Linked DNA regions of Homo sapiens: all the other regions are linked to region 1. Evidence: promoter capture Hi-C in 16 types of primary human blood cells and fetal thymus (Javierre and others, 2016). All regions are on one chromosome and are shown on one strand. The core of a region is centred on a gene start or on the middle of the fragment in contact, and the rest is flanking DNA. Distances in the headings are between cores, read along the strand shown. Region 1 holds the start of MTF2 (metal response element binding transcription factor 2). Region 2 has its middle 7.0 kb from the start of MIR760. Region 3 has its middle 27 kb from the start of MIR760. Region 4 overlaps BCAR3 (BCAR3 adaptor protein, NSP family member).

Region 1 (5,356 bases), core at 911-3,410:
AGAGGCAAATTTCTCTGTTAAAATATAGATTAACAATATACTGTCAGTTTCCTCAAGTCAGATGTAAAGATTATGCTGAAAAATGATTAAAGCAAATTATCCTTCAAAGATCCCACAAAAAGGAATATTTATAATCCATGAAATCAAAGAGTTAATGACCCACAGTAAAATACACAGAATGTCTTTCCTAACAGAGCTTTGAGGCAACGGGGATGATTTAAAGAACTATTAAATATAATTGTGTCATCTAGAAAAAAGGCTTAACAAGATGATTTCTGTACAACTAGTTCTAAAACTGTGTATGCATTTCATCCTGATAGTTACACATTTCCGTTAATACCCACTAACATTATAAATGTAGTATCAGGAAGCAGGTGTGTTCTTAATTCAAATATTTAGAACATTTTTAGCACTTTAAAAAACTGCAGGTGAACTAATTTTAAAATGTGAATTCAAATACATTTTTATATTTAGGAATCTGAAAAAACAAGTCATTTTGTATTCCCTCTCAAGTTATAACTAAACTATAGGGCACTTAAAGCCATCAGTCAAAACAACTCCCTTTAAAGCATTTTCAAATCTTAAAAAGGTTATTGTGAATTTAATTACATTTTATCCACATTAACTACTTCTACATACAACTATCTTTGAAATTTACTGACAAAAAAAAAAAAAAAAGGAATTCCCAAGAGAGAATGAAACCATGGAAATTGAAACCAGCTTGTAGGCTAGGTATACAGGAGGGTCACATGGAATCCATCTGAAGGAGAAAGTAACTACTATTACTACCGGAGGTTCTGAAGTCAAATTAAATCAGGTACTATTTACATATTTCTAGCTCTGTACTGACCTCACATGGTGCCTTCCTATGTATTACACACAGGCCTAGCTAGGTTTTCACATTTAAGTTAGTGTTACATGGTTTCTATCTTTAACCAAAGTTAAATGTTTTAAAGAATAGAGTAACATTCCATAAGCCTTTTCCCATTGTTCACAAACCCTTGCTGTTAGTCAGATTACCCCGATAAATCCATCTGTTCCCTCTAATTGCTTCCAAAGAAAAATTCTAGCAACCAAGGACACCAGATTGTAAAACACAGAGTTAGAGTTCTGGCACTACCGAAATATGTTAAGAAATCTTGGCAAATTGGTTAAAATTCCTTGAGCCGTAATTACCTCAGTTGTAAAAATGAATACAATACAAATCTACATCCTAGACGTAGATTATATGAGTTAGGTTTAATTAAACACAAGAAAAGCCTCATATTTTTGGTGAGCTCCAAATATAAGCTACCTAGCTTTCCCCCATCTCACTTTCCCTCCCACCGCTTCCCTTTAAGCTTTCAGGTTGTGCTTCCAACCTCCACTTCAGTGTGTTCCCCTTATCCTTACCAGCACTTACACTCGACCCCCTTTACTCCAATTCCATACAATTCCACCCTCCGATTCCAAGCTGCTACTTCCCTTTGCGCACTGCTAAGGTCCCAGGCAGCCCTCCACTCTGCTCCCCACATTTCCCTCAGCCCCCATTTCCCAACGGCTCCTCCTCTCGGCTCCCCACCCCCTCGTCACCAGGTTCATCCTGCCCCTCCAACCGTCTCCCGCCCCCAGGTTCCTTCCTGCCCTCCAAACACAGCTTCCCCGTCTCAACGTTTCATCTTGTTCCTCCAACAGACTCCCCCAACGACCTCCTCGCTCCTTTAGTCCCTATTTTCTCCCAACACTCAACTGACTACTCCTCTTCATCCATTCTTTTCAATATACACATAAATGCAAAGGCACCCACATACAGGAGCCCCCACCCCCACCTTGGTCCTCCATCTTTCCCTTTTATACTTGCTTCCTTTCTTCCTCCTTCCCCCAACCCCCATCTCCTCCGGAAGAGTCGGTTCCCAGGCCAAGGTCTCTCACCTCATTCGGTCACTTCAGTGGTGCCAACCGCTTCATACAGGAAAAAACAACCAATCCGTCCCCGTGGGCGCTTCCCCTGCGAGTCCGAGCACTTACTGGGCACCCGCCCCACCGGGTACCCGGCACATATGCACGCACAAACCGAGGTCCTTGGAGACAAGGGTTGGGGGTAGAATGAGCGTTCTTACACCGGCCTCAAACACAGCCCACTTCAATACAGCCCCTCGCCATTTTGGTTTCCCGCGGACTGCCGGTGCATTCTGGGAGCGCGGAGCGACTCCGGTGCCGAATGGCAGCTCTCCAAAGCCGCGGGGGGGCAGGGACTGCGCGGCGAGCGCGGAGGAACACCGCGCCCTGCGTCCCCGACTGGGGCTGAACAAAGAAGGACTCTTTAACGTTGCAGTGAGGCTCAGTCCTTCCGCCGCCGGGGCTAACACAATAGTGAAAGCTGCGCTCCTGATCGTCGGCAGGCTGGCACTGTTATACAGGAAAAGGGTCGTGTGCGACCTTCGGTGTGCGTGGTCGTAACGGTGCTCTGTGCATCTTGCTGGGCCGATTTCTTTTCCCTGGAGAAAACCTTAACTGAAGCACGTTTCCTCTACTTTCATCCTAAGGCCTGCTGTTAGAATTTCCTTCAGAGGGGAGAAGACCCAGGATGTCGAGATTAAATTTTATTCAGCGATTCACTGTCCAGTCCCAAACTCCTTATCAGGAGCTGCTTTTATGAAAGACTTTCAGACGATTTTTTTCCTAACGATGAAAGGTTGTTTTCTGTTTACCCGCTTTGCAGTCCTTCCTAGTTGTAATGAAATCTGAGAATAGTCCCCTGCAAAATGGTTTAAGAAAACAGAATTGTTTATTAGTGCAGACCCTTAGCCTGCCCAGATTCTGCTGCCTACAGGGGTCCCAACTGACAAGCTGTGAGATTGTATGCTTGTCTCTTTAACTTACACCTAGATACAACCCAGCTCCTCTTAGTAGCCACGTGTGGAATCTTTATTTATAATTTCGTCAAAATATTTTTAAAGCCATTTTATATTTTTGTCCCATATTATGCCACAGGGATAGTGAACACCATATTTTTTCTGTCTCTGAAAAAGTACCTTTTGTGGTCTAAGCTCATTTGGCTCATACTTCAAAAGGGGTTCCCTCAGCCTGTGATCTCAGAATTTGGCAAATAAGCATATTCGTTTTATCCAATACCATTCAATACTTTAAATATTGTGGTCATACCCTTCCACTCCTCTGCTTCTCCTGAATAATAGTCCTAATCTTTTAAGTCTGTCTTCTTACTGTACCCTCACTGTATCTACTTACCTACTACCTTTCAGGTTTCACTTTATTTCAATTCTCATCATCGTCTCTCATAAATTCGTCTTAAGTGACCTTCATACGTTGGCTGAGGAAAATTTTGACTTAAAAAAAGCAGATGCAGCCGGGCGCGGTGGCTCACACCTGTAATTCCAGCACTTTGGGAGGCCGAGACAGGCAGATCACCTGAGGTCGGGAATTCGAGACCAACCTGATCAACTTGGAGAAACCCCGTCTCTACTAAAAATACAAAAATTAGCCAGGTGTGGTGGCACATGCCTGTAATCCCAGCTACTCGGGAGGCTGAGACAGGAGAATCGCTTGAACCCAGGAGGCAGAGGTTGTGGTGAGCCAAGATCGTGCCATTGCACTCCAGCCTAGGCAACAAGAGCAAAAACTCCATCTCAAAAAAAAAAAAAAAAAAGTAGATGCATTCCCATTCAGGAACGTGGCATTAAGGTAAATAAATAAATAAAATATTAAAAAGTAGATGCAGTACAAAAATTAATAAAGATATTGCACAAACAGATATATTTGCTGTGCAGCTAAGCCTAATCAGAGAACATCTGTTTTGGAGAACGTTTGGTCTAAGTTTTCCTCAACATTTCTGTAAAGTGGTCACCAAGCCTCAACTTCAAAATCTTCAGTGATTCAATACTTCAGACGCATTCATTTCCACCTCAGAAACTCTAATAATTTAGGCTCTTTGGCTACACAAAAGTATTCTAATCCCTTATACATTAGAGAAGTAAATTATGCCTCTATCAAAAAAAAGTGTTATTTTTCTGTGCAAACGTGTGAGTACAAAGGTGTAAGCAAACCAAGTGTTCAGAGATTTAAGGACACTCAGGGAGTCACAGTCAAGTATAAAGAATACCTGTCAGCCAGCCACCAGCAACTCACTCCTGTAATCCCAGTACTTTGAAAGGCCAAGGTAGAAGGATCACTTGAGCTGGGGAGTTCCAGACCAGTATGCAGTCTGAGCCACATAGTGAGACCCTGTCTCTACAAAAAATTTAAAAATTAGCTGGGCCCCTGCCTGTAGTCCCAGCTATTCAGGAGGCTGAGGTGGTAGGCTTACTTGAGCCACAGTGAGACTGCCTCAAAAAAAAAAAAAAAAAAAAAAAAAACCTGCTGTAGTTGTGGTTCCTCGGAAATATAGAGTGAACTCTGATCAGAGTAAACTGTACCCTTTATTGTTGTATGTATTTCTGTGATCATCCTTAGGGTGGTTCATAAGTATTCTGGTTCCCCTCTCTTCCAGACACATAGTAAAATTGCACTCTGGCCGGGCGCGGTGGCCACGCCTGTAATCCCAGCACTTTGGGAGGCTGAGGGGGGCAGATCACTTTAGGCCAGGAATTCCAGACTAGCGTGGCCAACATGGCAAAACTCTGTCTCTACTAAAAATACAAAAATTAGCCGGGCGTGGTGGTGCATGCCTGTAATCCCAGCTATTTGGGAGGCTGAGGCAGAGAATCACTTGAACCCAGGAGGCCGAGATTGCAGTGAGCCAAGATTGCACCGCTGCACTCCAGCCTAGGCGACAGAGGGAGACTCTGTCTCGAAGAAAAAAGAAAAAAAAATTTGCACTTTCTTGCACCCCTGAAGTTAATTGCTTTGACCAATAAAATGGGTGACATGTATCACTTCTCAGGAGAATCTTTAAGAAGCAGAGACACATCTCCCTCCCCCATGCTATGGTAATCATGGAAGCTTGGGTTGAGATAGAATGTCTGTCGCTTTCAGTTCCTAAATGTCTACAATAAGCAGTGACTAGAATTGTGCAATCATCACCACAATCCACGTTTAAAACATTTCCATCACCCCCAAAAAATTCATTATGCGCATTTGCAGTCAACCCTCCTTCCAAGCCCTAGGCAATCTGCTATCTGCTTTCTGACAATTTCATATAAATGGTTTCATACAATAAGTAGTCTTTTGCATCTGGGTTCTTTCACTCAGAATATTTTTTAGGTTCATCTACGTTGTACCAGTCAGTAGTTATTTCTTTTTATTGCCAAATAGACTCCATTTGAATGAATGTACTACATTTTGTTTATCCATTCGCCAGTTGAAGGACATTTATGTTGTTTTCAATCTGGGGCTATTATAAATAAGACTGCTATGAACA
Region 2 (5,356 bases), core at 1,296-3,795, 760 kb before region 1:
ACAGAGATGAAAAACACATGTGCTTGGCTTACAAGCCTTATAGAAAGGATGATAGTCCAGGCGTGGTAGGTAGCTCATGGCTGTAATCCTAGCACTTGGGGAGGCTGAGGCGGGTGGATTGCCTGAGCTCAGGAGGTCGAGACCAGCCTGGCCAACATGGTGAAACCCTGTCTCTACTACAAATATAAAAATTACCCAGGTGTGGTGGCACATGCCTGTAATCCCAGCTACTCGGGAGGCTGAGACAGGAGGACTGCTTGAACCTGGGAGGCAGAGGTTGCAGTGAGCCAAGATCACAGTATTTGCACTCCAGCCTGGGCAACAGAACGAGACTCCATCTCTGGGGAAAAAAAAAAAAAAAGGATGACAGGTACACAAACAGCTGTGATGTAAAATAAAAAGGTCTTTAAGTGAGGTGCAGGTGTGGTGATACGGGACTTCAGGGAAGAGAAAGATTACATTGTGAGAGGGAATTACACAGGGAGGCTGCATTTGAAATGGGCTATCTAACCTAGGACTGACTTGCGTACAAGGAATGCTGTGGCTAGGGCGCAGGGTAGAAACCAGACTCAGGAGTTATGAGGAAGAAGATAGGACAAGGCTGGGAAAATAATGGAGGCTGAGCAGTTCAGTGCACAGTGTTTAAAAGGGTGCCAAAAACTTGACCTTGGTTGCAGCAGGTGCTGGTAAAGAAGGTCACTGGGGTTCAGAGTACTGGTGACAAAGTCAGGCATGGTTCTGTGCCATCAGCCTGTTCAGAAGAGGACAAGAAACACAGCTAAGGATAAAGGGAACATGATCTGGTCCCGAAAGGGGAAGGCTTGGGAGGCTGATTGAAAGACTTAGACTGGTAGAGTGGTATTCAGAGAAGAAGTCTAGTCATGAAGGAAAACTGAGGCAGATGCAGGTATATCGTGTCTAAGGCAGGCAGCACCACCAATTCCAGATCTCATGGCTGGTTGCCTGGCTGACCAGGCTTCCAAGCCTAGTAGGGCTCAGGAAGGATGTAGGAGTATCTTGTAAGTGGCAGTTACCTGTCTCTGCTGTTGAGATGGCTAAACAAAGGCTGAGCCTTACTTGGGTCTTCAAGGCTGGTCAGGCTTGTCCCTGCACAAACAAAAGACCACATTCATTCATTTAAGCATTGAGACTAGCCAGGCTCTCCACAAGTCTCTTGGGACCCTTTGGTGAAGAAGACAAATGCTGTCCTTGCTGCCATGGACCTTGCAATCTTGAGCAAAGTCAGACAGCAGAGCATGAATGAGTATAGGAAATGGGCTTGACTTAAGAGATACAGCTGAGAAAGTCAGTGGGGCAAAGATCCGGAAGCGCTTCAAATGCAAGGCTAAGGAGCCTGGGGTTGAGCAGCCCCATGTCACCTCCTCCGAGAATTTTCCCAGACATTCTTCTGCAGCCTAGTCTGCTGGTGGTGGGGAGGGACTCCTGGATTCCCAAGGTACTTTCAAAGCTCTATAATTTTCTGTGTGGTTTTCTATCTCTTCTCCCAGACAATAAGCATCTTGGGGGAGTGGGAGGAAAGTGGGGGGAGCACGTCTTCTTTTCCTTTATCTTTGTAACCTCAGTCCCTAGCATTGTGGCTAGCTCACAACAAGTAGCTTTGAATATTGATTGAACAAATGAATGAGTCCTGTAGGCAATAAGGAAGCTACTTGACTATGTGCCTAGCTTATCTTCTGCATTAGACCAGAAGCTCTTGAAAGCTAAACATCCGTGCTTTCTAACTGTTTTGTAATTCTCCCCAAGGCTTGGCAGAATATCATGTACACAGTGGACACTCCATAAATGATGCCTGAATGCGTTTGTGGAAGTAGAAGTGGATCTTCAGTGTCCTAATTCCTGCTTTCAGTGACCCAGTTTGGGGGAGTAGGTCTTAAATTTCTTCCCCTCAGAATGACATCTCTGCCTTTTAAGTTCTCAACAAACTAGTAGGATGACTTCTTCTGGTAAGCATATTTGGAAGGAAAGGCATTCTGAGCCCCACTCGTGGGCCTCACAACAAATAACCATCTATTAAAGCTTAGTGAATCTTAATTGTTTAGCAGTTGAAAATAATAATGAAGTAATAACGCATCACACCAGGCACTTTTCTGGGTTCTTCATGTATATCAGACCTCACTTAATCTTCATAACAACCCTCTAAGGTAGGCAGGATCATTGCCCCATTCCCAGATGGGAAGGCAAACCACAGGGAAAGCAGCAGGATTGAATCCAGGCACCTGTCCCCAAGTTCACATATACCCTGGACTACAGCAGTTTCTCCTAGAAAAGAAATCAGGAGAGAATCAGCAAGCAACTGGGAGCAGACTTGTTAGACTAGCGGTCTTCAAACTCTACCACGCTCTAGAATCTTGATGCCCAGGATGCACCCTGAGGCCAGTTAAATCACAATTTCTGGGGATGGGACCCTGGCATCAGCATTTTTTTTAAACTCCCTAGGTGATTCTCATATGTAGCCAAATTTGAAAATAATGCCCTCTGCCCTTCCTGCAAAAATGCTGACCATGAACCAGGAGTATCAGCATGACCTGGGAGCAGATTAGAAATGCAGGCTCTCGGCCCCACCCTAGGCCTGCTGAATCAAATCTGTATTTTACTAAGATCCCCTCAGTGACTCATTTGCACTAAAGTTTAAAATGCACTGGTTTAGGGCTTAGGTATTCAAGCTCTCATTATTCCACTTGGGCTTCTGTTATTAGCATGAATTTAAATCCTTAATAAGCAAATCTCAAAACTCCATCAAAAAGCTCAGAATCAATCTGATATATTGGCCCAAAAAAATTACTTCAGAGGAAACTATGACCTTTTACTTCTCATTTTGTGAGGGAACTGAGGAAGAAAAGTTATATTGCTAATGGTGTCTAACAGAATGTAGATTCAGTCCAATCTAAAAGAGGCAGATGAATAACTCCTGGCTGCCTTCCTTCTTCTGAGTCAGAAGGATCAGGCCCACGACCTCAGTTAGGCAATGACCATACTTGAGTACCAAGCTGATTGATAAAGAAAATCCTCCAGCCAGAGGTATCTAAGCTTTCACAACTTCTGCTGTTTCCCCATGGTATGTTCCTGTTATAGACCCATAGATGAGATCAGCAATCCTTGTCCCAATTGAGATCTTGTTGTTTGTCATTCAGCTTTCTGAATCTAACTAGATACATTGCCCACTTTTTAGTTTAGTTTAGTTTTTTTCTTTTTATTTTCTTTTAGACTGAGTTTCACTCTTTTTGCCCAGGCTGGAGTGCAGTGCCACAATCTCGGCTCACTGCAACCTCCACGATTCAAGCGATTCTCCCACCTCAGCCTCCTGAGCAGCTGGGATTACAGGCACATGCCACCACGCCCAGCTAATTTTATATTTTTAGTAGAGATGGGGTTTCACCAGGCTGGTCTCAAACTCCTGAGCTCAGGTGATCCACCTGCCTCGGCCTCCCAAAGTGCTGGGATTACAGGCGTGAGCCACCACGCCTGGCACTTTTTAGTTTTTATTTGCCATTGCTTTGTTTATTTATAACTAAATAACTGAAATTTGGAACTAGACTCAGAATGTGTCCCAGTTCATCTGAAGGACATGGAGGTCCACTGGGATGCTCCTTATTTCACTATTTCACTATTTTTTGGTCTTTGCCCACTTTTTCCTTGAAATGATCCATTCTGTGCATTTTATTATATCTCAAGACATCAGGTAGATAGTCACAACCAGTAGCAAATACACCGGCTGAAATTGCCCTCCTTGCTTGGAATGTCTGCCCTTGAATGCAAATTATTTACTTCTGGATCCCTGACAGTGTAATTGTATAATAACTGCGTTTGTAGAATGGTAAGGTTAGCATCCCGTTTTTCTCAGATCTTCAGTAGCAGACTATAAATGACTAGAAAGGGGAGGGCTACTTAGTATCAAGTTTTTCAACACTAGTAATGGAGAGGTGCTATGGTTTGCATAGAGTTAGTTTGTCCCCACCAAAATGCATGTTGATATTTGATCCCCAGTGTGGCAGTGTTGGAGGTCAGACCTAGTGGGGGGTATTTGGGTAATGAGGGTGGATCCTTTATGAATGGCTTCGTGCTACTCTCATAGTAGTACATGTGTTCTCACTGTTGCTAGACTGGATTACTTCTCATGGATATGGATTGGTTTCCAGGGAGTGGGTTGTAATAAAGACAGGATGCTCCTCAGGTTTTTCTCCCCCTTCACACATGTCCACTTCCCTTTTGATCTCCTTTGCCATGTTGTGATGCAGCACAAAAGCCCTTGCGGGAAGCAGGGCCATGCCCTTGAACTTCTCAGCCTGCAGAACTGTGAGCTAAGCAAACCTCTTTTCTTTATGAATTACCCAGTCTCCAGTATTCTTTTATAGCAATACAAAACAGACTAAGGCCAGGAGCATAAAGAGAGAAAGAAAGGGGCCATCCCTTCCCCCATTTCTCTGGATGATCTTACTTGCTGGCCAAGCGTTTGTCATTTCTAAGCCTGTGGCGAACAATAATGATACATGGAAAGACCCTGTAGATACTGTCCTAACAAGAGTCCATGCTAGAGCCTTGAACATGACTCATGTGAGTGTTGAATGGATCAATTAATTCTTCAGGTACATTTATGACTGGGGCTGATACTGAGCTCATAGGTACTAACATGAAGTAAGGGCCAGAGCCCATTCTCATTGAGCAGGCTACCCACCACTCTGCTGGGCTGGTACCCACACTGTACCACTCATTACAGATGGCACCTAGAATGTGAGAATGTGGCTCCAAGTTGCAAGCCAGAAAACAAAGAAATGTTTACAACCCAACCTGATATGGCTTACTTACAGGACTGGTTAAAGGGAGAGAAGTGGAGCCTGATTGGCTAGGAATCTTGAAGGGGTGGGACCCAGCAGTCTCAGAGCTGCAACAAGATGGATCCTGGAGAAGGAATGAGAATTTAAAGTAATTCGAACTGAGAATGGATTAATATGGCTCTCTAGTAAATCTGGAGGCAAAATTTGGAAGCAACAGAGAAGTAAAAAGGAAGGAGAGACCAGGAACAGGAGCTGAGTGGGTAGAAGCTCATTGAAGTTTTGGGGAATGAAGAAGGAGGAAGAAGAAAGAAGGTGCATCAATTACATTGAACTAAGTGAGTGAAACACAGAAAACACAAAACACAGAGCAACTGAGGCTTAAATGAACTGGAGCTTTATTCTATATTGCTAGCTGTATTAGTCCATTCTCACTTTGCTATAAAGACATACCTCAGACAGGGTAATTTATTTATTTTTTTATTTTTATTTTTTACTTTTTTGAGACAGAGTCTTGCTTTGTCACTCAGGCTGGAGTGCAATGGCACAGTCTCAGCTCACTGCAA
Region 3 (5,356 bases), core at 1,769-4,268, 740 kb before region 1:
AGCCAAGACCACGCCATTGCACTCCAGCCTGGACAACAAGAGCAAAACTCCGTCTCAAAAAAAAAAAAATTAGCCATGCGAGATGGTGAGCTGAGTAATCTCAGCTACTTGGGAGGCTGAGGCAGGAGAATCGCTTGAACCTGGGAGGTGGAGGTTGCAGTGAGCCGAGATCACACCACTGCACTCCATCCTGGGTGATAGAGAGACTGTCTCAAAAAAAAAAAAAGAAAAAAAAAACATCACAAAGATGGATTGCAATGTCCATCTGAACCTTCTCTGTTCTTTAATGCCTCAATGCCTTTGCCCACACTGTTTCTGGCCCTTGCTGCCTTGTTCTTTGAGACAGCCCTTGCTATACTAACACTCTCTTCAAGCATATCCCAGCTTCCCTAACCTTGCTTGGCTCCTGCCTCCAGGTGGAATTAGAAGGTGCTCCTTTGCAAGTGACTCAGTTATTGCAGACTGGTACAGTGGTTAAATACAAGGTGCAGAAAGCACACACCCAAGCTCTCATGCTTACAGGCTGGGTGACCTCAGGCAAGATATTTAACTCTCTGAGCAATCTAATTGATTCTTCTTCTGTGAAATGGGCATAATAATGGTAAAAATGGGTCTAATAATAGTACCTACTTCATTAAATTTTTGTGATGATTATAAGGTATGCTAAGTGCTTAGCACAACACAGGGAGTACTGTGCTAAGTATATGTGTAGTGCTCAGTAAATGCTAATTCTTTTTATTTGGTGGTGGTTATTATTAGCATCCTCATGGAGGGACAACTGTAGACACAAATACAAATAGAGTGACCTCATGCCAAAATGTGATTCCAAGACGTTTGCTCACTTTTCAAATGGCTCTAACATTTCACCACCCAGTAACTGCATGTTGAAAGGCCCCTGTAGTCTTTGGGGCTACGGTATTTAGTGTGGGCAAACAGCGTGATGTGTACCGTGGACATTTTTGAAGGTTTCTTTACCACCACCTCTGAACTCCATCTGCATCCAAGGGCTATCTCTAAAGAGAAATCGAAGACATCCACCCACAGTTTCACAGAGCTCTCTACAGGCCTTTCCCTTATTGGTCATCTCCTTGGTGAGGTCAGAGGAGGCTTTGCTCCTGGCCTCTGCAGGAGATTCCTGTCCTCTAATCTCTGAACTTCAATGGAATCTGGGTTAGAAGGATCCCTGAGGGAGTCTCAAGGGAGGACAGCCGATTTACCCTCCCCAGACCCCTCAGTGTTGAAGAACGACCTTCAAGAGGCAAATGATGATTTGAAGGTCGAGTAAGGCTCTTATGTACTTGTGACAAAATAAGAAAAATACATTTGGTCTCTGCCCCAGTTCCTAGCACAGAGCTCCTAAAACTCTTGTAATTTCCGGAGTGATAGGGGTGACAGGAGTTTTTTTTGTTTTGTTTTTTTATAATGTAACTAGGGTCTTGGTCCCTAGTTCCTGCTATAAGAGCTTCTAACACCCTTGGAATTTCTGGAGAGATAAGATGTAATTTGTAATGCTAATGAGGTAACTCTAGGTTGGGTGGGGGTGGGGGAGCTAGACAGCTTCAGGATGAGGTCGGCTTACCAGAGGAATCAAGCTTACGATTAGAGGGTTGGAACTTTCAGCCCCATCGTCTGACCTCTGGGAAGAGGGGAGTTGGAGACTGAGTCCAATCACCAATGCCCCCTGATTTAATCAATCATGCCTATGTAACGGAACCTCCACAAAAACCCTAAACAACGTTATTCAGAGAGCTTCCAGGTTGGTGAACACATCCACATGTCAGGAAGGCAAATGCCCAGAGAGTGTGGAAGCATCTCACCTCCTCCCACATACCTTGCCCTATGCATCTCTTTCATTGGCTGCTCCTAGAGTTTTATTCTCCATAATAAACTAATCAGAGTAAGCAAAGTGTTTCACTGAGTTATGAGAAGCATTATAGCAAATTTTTGAACCTGAGGAGGGAATTTGGGGAACCCCCAATTTATAGCTGGTCAGTCAGGAATACAGGAGACCTGAGACTTGTGATTGGCATCTGAAGTGGGGGTCAGTTTTATGGGGCTGATCCCTTAACCTGTAGGGTTTGTGCTAATTCCAGGTAGTTAGTATCAGAATTGAGTTAAATGGTAAGATCCTAATTGGTGTCTGCAGAGAACTAAAGAAGTACAAGTACTTAGTTTGGAAAACCTACACATTTTGGTGTCAGAAGTATTAAGAGCATCGAAAACTAGTTTTTCTTTTGGTATTCTTACCAATTTCCACAGAAATTGAGGTCCTGATGGACTCTGGATACTTGAGTAGCATCTTTAACTGTGTTTGTGTGAGTGAGTTCTGAGTTTAGAGTTTACTGTTAAATAAATCTGGCTCCTAAGCAAATTAATGCAGGAACAGAAAACCAAATACCACATGTTCTCATTTATAAATGGAGCTAAACATTGAGTACACATGGACACAAAGGAGGGAACAACAGACCCTGGGACCTACTTGAGGGTGGAGGATAGGAGGAGGGTGAGAATCAGAAAACTGTCTATCAGGTATGATGCCCATTACCTGGGTGATGAAATAATCTGTACACCAAACCCCCATGACACACAATTTACCCATGTAACAAACCTGCATTTGTACCCCTGAACCTAAAATAAAAGTTGGAAAGAAAAATAAATAAATAAATAACTGGAAATATATAAATAAATCTGGCAAAGTTATAGTGTTTGTGGTAGGTGAAAAGATACTCGCACCCAGCAGCGTCTGCCTGAATTTTCTCTGTAAGTTGCAAAGGTCCAATATTTAATACAGGTCACATTTTAGGATTAGAATTTTAATCCACTTTCAAGTAGTAAGTTTGTTCCTCAAAAAATAAAAAATAAAAATAAAAGATCCAGAAGAGAGCTAAGAGTAGGAAGCAACCTACCTTTGTATCTTTTGCTAAAGCGCATGTATTTTGGTAGTTAAAAGCAAAAGCAAGTGGGCTTGGTAACCAGTGGGAGGAGTGGCCAGGGAAGGTGCTCCCGAAGTATCAATTGGTTAGCAAAGTCAGTTTAAAATGGGCGACCCGGCTGGGCGTGGGGGTTCACACCTGTAATCCCAGCACTTCGGGAGGCCGAGGTGGGTGGATCACGAGGTCAGGAGATTGAGACCATCCTGGCCAACGTGGTGAAACCCCGTCTCTACTAAAAATACAAAAATAACTGGGTGTGGCAGCACACGCCTGTAATCCCAGCTACTTGGGAGCCTGAGGCGGGAGAATGGCTTGAACCGGGGAGGCGGAGATTGCAGTGAGCCGAGATTACACCACTGCACTCTAGCCCGGCAACAGAGTGAGACTCCATCTCAGAAAAAAAAAAAAAGGACAACCCACAGAGTATACAATTATAACAACATGTGGATCATTGCTTCTATCTCAACATTATTATAACAAACATTTGATACTTTTCTATTTACAAAAATATCATATATACATTGCTGATACCTAATATCTAACAATTCTTCAGCACTTAACTATGTACCAAGCAGTGTTTTAGGTGCTTACACTCATTTGCTCATTTAATCATTACTGACCCATGGGGCTGTATTCCAGTGCCTCCTTAGCCTGCTCTTTAAAACCATTCATCACCCACCCACTTACTCTCCTACACAGCACTTACCACTCTCTGACACACTATGTTTACTTCATTACCTGTCTGTGTCTCTCCACTAGAATGTGAGCTCCCTGTTGGTGAGAATTTGCTTTATACCCAGCACCTAGAATAATGCCTGACATATAATGAAACAAATGCCTGGTCCTCAGTAAATACTTGATTAATGATGGAAAGTACTGTTACCTCCCATTTTACAGGTGAGGAAACAGGCTCTGAGTGGTTAAGTAGCTTGCTCAGATCACAGCTAGGAAGTGGCAGAACTGGGATACAAACCCAGACACTTCCGCTCTGGAGACACCCACAACCACGACAGTAGGCAGCCCAGGTACACAGCACTGAGTCAGACCAGTCCTGAGGTGGGGACTTGCGTGGTAGGCATAGACCAAGGTATTTAGCCTGCAGGCAGAAGAGGAAGGCCCTGAGAAGGAGGCGGTAGACATTGAAGATTAACGTCAGCTGTGTGGCACTTGTGCTTTAGTGTGATCCTGGCTAACAGTGCTGATATCAGTCTCTCATGAGTGTAATCACACAGAAACCAACAGATATTTCTGAACTCCTTGTGTGTGTAAAGCACTGATGTACGTGTTAAGAAAACTGTCACAAAGTACAAAAGGAGACACTTGGCACTCAAAGAGCTTATAATCTAATTGTGGGAAGCACTAGCACATGAAAAATAACATAGCAAAGTCAGCAGTATTAAGAGTACCATAAAGTGGCACGTGGTTAACACTCAAACCAGGGGCCCTGGGAACCAGTGCGTCACCGGTAAGGAGGGAGCAGTCACTAAAGTCTCAGTAGGCTGGGAAGCTTCGTGTGGTGTGGGGCGGCGGGGAGCAAAGCTTCCTTGGGACTGGCAGAGCCAAGAGGGCTGAGGAGGTCTAGGGGAAGGTGAACTGGGAGGGTGGGAAAGCAGGGAGGAGGAGAGCCCCTTGGCAAAAAGTGCTGTGGGGCAAAATACTGCAAAGATGCTGGGCAGGGATGTGGGGGGGTAAACAGGGCTAGTCAGCTGTAGCCCATCAAAGCCAGGATGGAGAATGTCATATGTAGTTTGTGCATGGATGTCACCTTGAGCTGGGAAGCAACTCAGAGACTTACAGGGAAGGAGAATAGAAAAGGAGTAAGATTGGGAATGCTGCCAGAGATGACATGGAGAAGCACAGGGAAGGCCAGAGAACCAAATGGCTAAGGGCACAGGCTTTAGAGCCAGCCTAACTTCCACCTCTACCTCTGCCACTTCTGAACTGTATGAAAGGTCACGACACTCAACTTTCAGAGACTCATTTCCTCATCTGTAAATGAGAGAAAAAGAAAAAAGTTGTCTCATGGAATGTCTGTGAGGTTAATACAGTGAGATAATATAACATGTAAAATACTTAGCACAGTGCTCAATAAATGGTAGCTTTCAAAAACCATGGAAGTGACCCACTGGGAATGCTGGGCTCTCAGCCCCAAAAACCAGAGAGCAATGCCAGACCATGGTGCCTGCTGCCCCCCGCACTGGGGGTGACCCCCTTCAGCCCCTGCTTTGATGCCCAGTGGCCCATTTCTTCCCTCATACTTAAAAGTGCCTGCTCACATATAAGGCTAAATCAAACTCCTGCAGAAACATGACAGGAAGCTGAAAAGATAACATAAAGCAGAAGCAGGGATTCCTGTTACCAGAACAGTGTTGGTTGAACAGGATGTGGGGGGATCAGGGAAACAGATGGCTGAGAAGCAGATA
Region 4 (5,356 bases), core at 808-3,307, 550 kb before region 1:
GGGAGTCAAGAGTGCAATGGCCCCTGGTAGAGTTTGGTGCCTCTGCCTTGCTTTGTGCTGAGGCACCAGGAATTAACCCATCATAGCTTTTGCACCACCAGTATAAATGTCAACCCAGTGAAACAGGCAAAAAATGTCTCTGTATTATTATGAAAATAAGTTTTGACCTCTCAGACCCCCAGAAGACCCCCCAGCCTGCAGATCAGCCTGTGGAACACACTTTGAGCACCACTGTACCAGAGGGTCTTTTGCTACTTAAGAGACTAAAAGCTGCAAAAACACTTAAAACACAAATAATCCCCTCTTGTTTATCTAAATCCATATTTATTTCTCTAGCAAAGTTTACTTTTAAGCTCAGCTTGCCCAACAGTTGCATTTACATTTAAAGAGACTTGTTTTTAATGTAGGAAAGACATTAAATTTTCATTTAAAAGTAAGGAAAAAATTGAGAGTCAATCCTTGAAGTAAGGGTTCTCAATTGTGGGCCTGTTCCTTGCAGTGGAGTGGATTGTGACACCTCTGGAAATGCTAACTCTATGTAACATAACCAAGTCATGATATACTGTAAAGATCTGGTTGCTCATCATATACTATAAAGTGCTAGGCCAGAAGCAATTGTAACTCTCCTCTCATTGCTTTATATTAAAACTCTGAAAACCCCAAGCTTGGTGAGGCCAAGGCTGGGTTATGGCAAGGTGCTCTGCCTGAGTATGCAAGTGTAGTCGAGGGAGAAATTTGTTGCAGGGATCCATTTACTTGGGACAGGCTGGAAGTGCGCATTCTCCTGATCCTTAAGCTTTTATTAATTGCTGCAGCCTTGGCTCCTTCTATGCTCCCAGTGTGGATTTGCTGGCTGAGCTCCATCCATCCTTTATGTGAATGAAGATAAGGATGTGTCAGACCCTGGGAATGAGAACATGCTGTTTGGCCCTTCAAGGCAATTTCCTTTCGAGTCCCAGCCCTCTCCAGATGGCATCTAATTGTTTCTTGAATGACCTCAGTGTCCAGGCTGCAGGAACCTGGTCTGAGAAGCCATTTCACATATTTATTAGCCTGTGGATGAGAACTTACTATATAAAGCCCCCATTCACATTCTCAAAAGAGCTTTTTGTACAGAAGAAATAAGGAAACTGATGGACTGTTTCCTGTGACCACCAGTCTTCAGCCGGATTCTTATTTTTACCAGGCCCAGGTGGGTGTATTTTGAAGGGGTCTGTGTGGTCCAGCTGAATCCATCCTGGTTCAGTGCCCTCCTGTCTGTCTCCTCATGGTCTCTACATGAAAGCCTTGACAGAATAGAGTCAAGTCCCCTTACCTCCTGGTTTCAGGATTACTTGAACAGAGTACAGGTAGTGTGAGTTGGGAATTACTGCATTCTGGAAGCCTCTCCCAGTTTGGAATCCCAGCTAGTTCAAAGTTTGAGAGAGTAAAATGACTCTTTTATTTTTGAGATGGAGTCTTGCTCTGTCACCCAGGCTGGAGTGCAGTGGTGCAATCTTGGCTCATTGCAAGCTCTGCCTCCTGGGTTCACGCCATTCTCCTGCCTCAGCCTCCCGAGTAGCTGGGACTACAGGCCCCCGCCACCATGCCTGGCTAATTTTTTTGTATTTTTAGTAGAGGTGGGGTTTCACCATGTTAGTGAGGATGGTCTTGATCTCCTGACCTCGTGATCCGCCCTCCTCGGCCTCCCAAAGTGCTGGGATTACAGGCATGAGCCACCGCGCCTGGCCGTAAAATGACTCTTAGGGCCAAAGTGGGAAGCAGCCGTAATTCAGCCAGAGGCTGGCAAGGCTGGCTTACCCGGTGAGGAGCATGACTTCTGTGTGGCCTGTCATCCCTCACGCCTCTGCAGTTCTGAACTATTTTTGGAGAGACAGGGAAGGGCCCCTACCTTCTTGCAAATACCATGAACAAGAGCCACGTCTCTAGAAATATGCATGCACACTTACTGCACATCTTAGTTCCAGGTGTTTGTGGACCCCAGGTTGAGAATCCCTGAGCTATCTCCAAATGTTCAGTGGGCCCCTATCATGTTCAGGCATTCCAATGATGACAATAAGACATGGGTCATGAGGCCAACAGACAAGGGCACCAGTCATTTTAATGAGTGCTTCAGTAGCTGAACCCTGGAGGACAGGGTTGGAGCTAGGGCTTCTTAAGGGGAGAAGGAAACCCCTACGGGCCCACACAGACTGAGAGCAGGGGCTCCCAAACTTCCAGGCCATGTCCACCTAAGGACTGTCTAAGGAGCACATTTGGGAAGATTTGAATGTGATTTGGAGATGATGTAAACGTCCTGTCCTTTGACCTGGAAAGAAGTCATGAGGGTTGCCCTCGCAGGTGACTGTACCGGGAAAAGCTCACCTGGCCTCAATAAGGGGATGTCTCAGCCAGTACCTCTAAATTGGGTCCTGTGGCCTTCCACATAGCAGAAAAGCCTTTTGGAAACATCCTCCAGGAGCTGAGGATGGTGCTGATGCCACATAAGCAGGGCTGAGAATGCAGTTTGTTTGTGCTTTCCCCTGGCTGGGAGGTGCTGGGTGTGGGAGCAGAACTCACCCCTACACCAGTGGCACAGTACATTCCAACAACATGAATCCCTCTCCCTCTTCCTAGAGGCAAATTCGTGTATTGTTATCCTTGAAAACTCAAGGCAACTCAATTATTTCCATGGAAGTCCCTGGAATAGACTGCAAAACACCATTAATTTCCATTCATTGCTGACACATGAGTGTACAACCCTATTATTAATGGGTGTATAATATGCATGTTTTCATGTAACATCAGTTCATGTTGGCTCCTTGTAGCATTTCTCAGATACAGAGATCACATTTTATACACATAATCTCCAACAGAGCCAGACACAGTATGTTACATCTCCATCTCAAGTTTTAATCTTACACTGATAAGGTGAGCCTGTAAACCCAAATTGATGGTGTGAGCTAGGAAACTTACCTCTGGGAAGGGCAGGGGTGGAGTGGCCTGGGTTGATGACTACTTCTGGGAAGGAAAACATTTTTAGGACCTTAGTCTCTTGCATCTGCCTCTCTCAGCACTTTGACCACATTCTCTTCCATCAGCTTCTTTATGCAGTGAGGGCCTGGCTGTGGGCTGCTCTAGGCTTATATTCTTAAGGCTTGTGGTCCAAGGGGAAAAGGGGATGTCTCTCTCAGCCCTAGTTTGAAAAGTCTCAGGGAAGGACTCTGTTTGGTCTCATGTCATTCACCTGCTTACTCTTGGACCATTCAGTGTTCAGTATTCTGATTGGCTCACACATCCATTAAAAGGATGAATACACATGCTACTCAGTAAAGCTTTTAAATATAATAGCCACCACCTGCTATCTATACCATTCCCCCCCTTACATTTTTAGGATCAGAAGTATATTCTGCTATATTTCTATTATCTCTATTCAGGATACATATATAAAATGTTGAGACATGAATGCTAAGTTTTGCGAAAAAAAAGAAAATCTTTTCAAGTCCTATTCCCATCTTTCCCTAGTTTATCTCCCTCCTGGTTTATGTACTGGATACCCATTGCCTCCAAGTTTGCCAGATTTGCTACTGTTACAGAGAAGTTATGGGCAGGGGGTGGGGATGTCCAGAGGGGCTGTGGATCCCCAGCCCATCTATAGCTTGTCCTTGGATGGATTCCCACATCTTATCACAAGTGACCCAACCGGGAGTCCTGGTGTTCCTGGATAGTTACCCAGATGGGTTTCTGCTGCTCTCCCTAGTAATTCTCCCTTCCTCCACCCAGCCCTTCCACCCATTTGGATATACACTGCAAGGCGTACCCAAATCTTTGAGCCACTGGCAAAGGAATTTATTGTCCCCACCTTGGCACCAGGAAGGGCAAATATTGACCTTCTGGATGTCACTCCTGCAGACAGCATTATGCTTGGCAGTTGACTACGTTAGGAAGTGAAGAAACTGGCCGGCAGTCAATGAGGTCCTTCCATGCACAGAACCCTCTGAATTGGCCTCTTCCTATAGAGGAAGGGGTACTGTTTGTGTTTCCATGTGACAAAAGCGGTCCCTTAGCCCTTCTTGTGCAGCAAGCCTTTGTTGCCTCCTGGTTCTTCTCAGATTCTGATGTCAGCATCCATCTCTCCCAGCCCTGCACTTTCCTTTCAGCTGTGAGCGGAATAGGACCTCTGATGGACTATTGCAGATGAGATCTGCTGCCTGTGTTGCCAAGAGTATCTGTCCCTCTGTTGGAGGGAGGTCTGCCTTTCAGATTTGCATAAGATAAAGCACTTCTGGTGACCAGGTGTTCTCCGTGCTTCCCTCATCACACCAGATAGAGCCAGCCATTCTGATTCGTTGTTGTTTTAATCATTAACTTTAAGAGCTGTTTGATCCCACATGTGAAATGGAGATAATAATACTCCTCTCCTAGTGTGACTATGAAATAGGACACCATGGTAAAAGTTCTCTGTAGAAGTGCTGGCTCCTGGCCTGGCATGGTGGCTCACGCCTGTAATCCCAGCACTTTGGGAGGCCTAGGAGGGTGAGTCACAAGGTCAGGAATTCAAGGCCAGCCTGGCCAATATGATGAAACTGTGTCTCTACTAAAAATACAAAAATTAGCCCATCTCTACTAAAAATACAAAAATTAGCCAGGCATGGTGGCGGGTGCCTGTAGTCCCAGCTACTCGGGAGGCTGAGGCAGGAGAATCACTTGAACCCGGGAGGCGGAGGTTGCAGTGAGCTGAGATTGCGCCACTGCCCTCCAGCCTGGGCGACAGAGTGAGACTCCATCTCAAAACAAAAACAAAAACAAAAACAAAACCAATGTGGCTTCTGGGGACCTTTCACATGGGGTGAGTGAGGTGAAACGATATCTGTGACGGCTGCAGGCTTCTTCAAGGCATCTCTGAAGTCTGTGGTGAGGAGGGGTTGTTGAGAGTCAAACTTGTAGCTCTTCCAATTTTCTGTCCTAAGTATTACATGCAAACAAGGTCCATCCACCCACTGAGTGAAGGGGTTCCCGTGCTGGTTAAAGCTGCTCCAGCGGCCATAAGAAACTGCAATACTACTTGCCTCAAGGCTATCTATCCCCTCCTCTTACCAGCCACATCCCTGCTACAACCCGGGTGTGTGCAAGGTGGCCAGCCAGGGTGCTTTATCAGTCCGTACTCACTTCTGTGACCACCAAGGTATTCTCACCTCCCTTCCTACATGCCACTGAAAGTCTTTCTGGATCAGAAGGAATTTTTTGGTCACGTGACTCTTTGAAATTGGGTAAAAGTCATAACCCCTCTCCTCAATGAACACAACAATTTGTATACAGTTTCTAGTGGCCCATGGAAGCCCCAGTCCACCCCTAGGTTCAGAACTCCTCATCTGGA

Evidence for each region. The method cuts DNA at HindIII sites, captures the fragments that hold promoters and counts their contacts. A CHiCAGO score of 5 or more calls a contact.
Region 2: a fragment that was not itself captured here is called in contact with the fragment with the promoter of MTF2 in region 1 in 8 of 17 cell types (naive CD8 T cells, total CD8 T cells, naive B cells and 5 more); the score reaches 7.4 in naive CD8 T cells.
Region 3: a contact is called between a fragment that was not itself captured here and the fragment with the promoter of MTF2 in region 1, in 1 of 17 cell types (megakaryocytes). The highest score is 6.5, in megakaryocytes.
Region 4: a fragment that was not itself captured here is called in contact with the fragment with the promoter of MTF2 in region 1 in 4 of 17 cell types (naive CD4 T cells, megakaryocytes, naive B cells and 1 more); the score reaches 7.1 in naive CD4 T cells.

What each region holds. Positions count from the first base shown.
Region 1 is chr1:93,076,087-93,081,442 of GRCh38, reverse strand. MTF2 (metal response element binding transcription factor 2) reads right to left here and starts at 2,160. Exons shown (of 15, transcript NM_007358.4): 1 at 1,912-2,160. The coding sequence starts at 1,916. RefSeq lists enhancers at 2,117-2,411, 2,348-2,597. The HindIII fragment of the contact is 3,598 bases long and covers 1,343-4,940 here.
Region 2 is chr1:93,837,154-93,842,509 of GRCh38, reverse strand. It overlaps a transcript of BCAR3 not described here. Among named protein-coding and RNA genes, the nearest start is that of MIR760, 7.0 kb to the left of the region's middle. RefSeq lists a silencer at 2,930-3,130. The HindIII fragment of the contact is 1,011 bases long and covers 2,040-3,050 here.
Region 3 is chr1:93,817,057-93,822,412 of GRCh38, reverse strand. It overlaps a transcript of BCAR3 not described here. Among named protein-coding and RNA genes, the nearest start is that of MIR760, 27 kb to the left of the region's middle. The HindIII fragment of the contact is 2,848 bases long and covers 1,595-4,442 here.
Region 4 is chr1:93,621,303-93,626,658 of GRCh38, reverse strand. All of the region lies in intron 3 of BCAR3 (BCAR3 adaptor protein, NSP family member), which reads left to right. Among named protein-coding and RNA genes, the nearest start is that of BCAR3-AS1, 32 kb to the right of the region's middle. The HindIII fragment of the contact is 2,518 bases long and covers 799-3,316 here.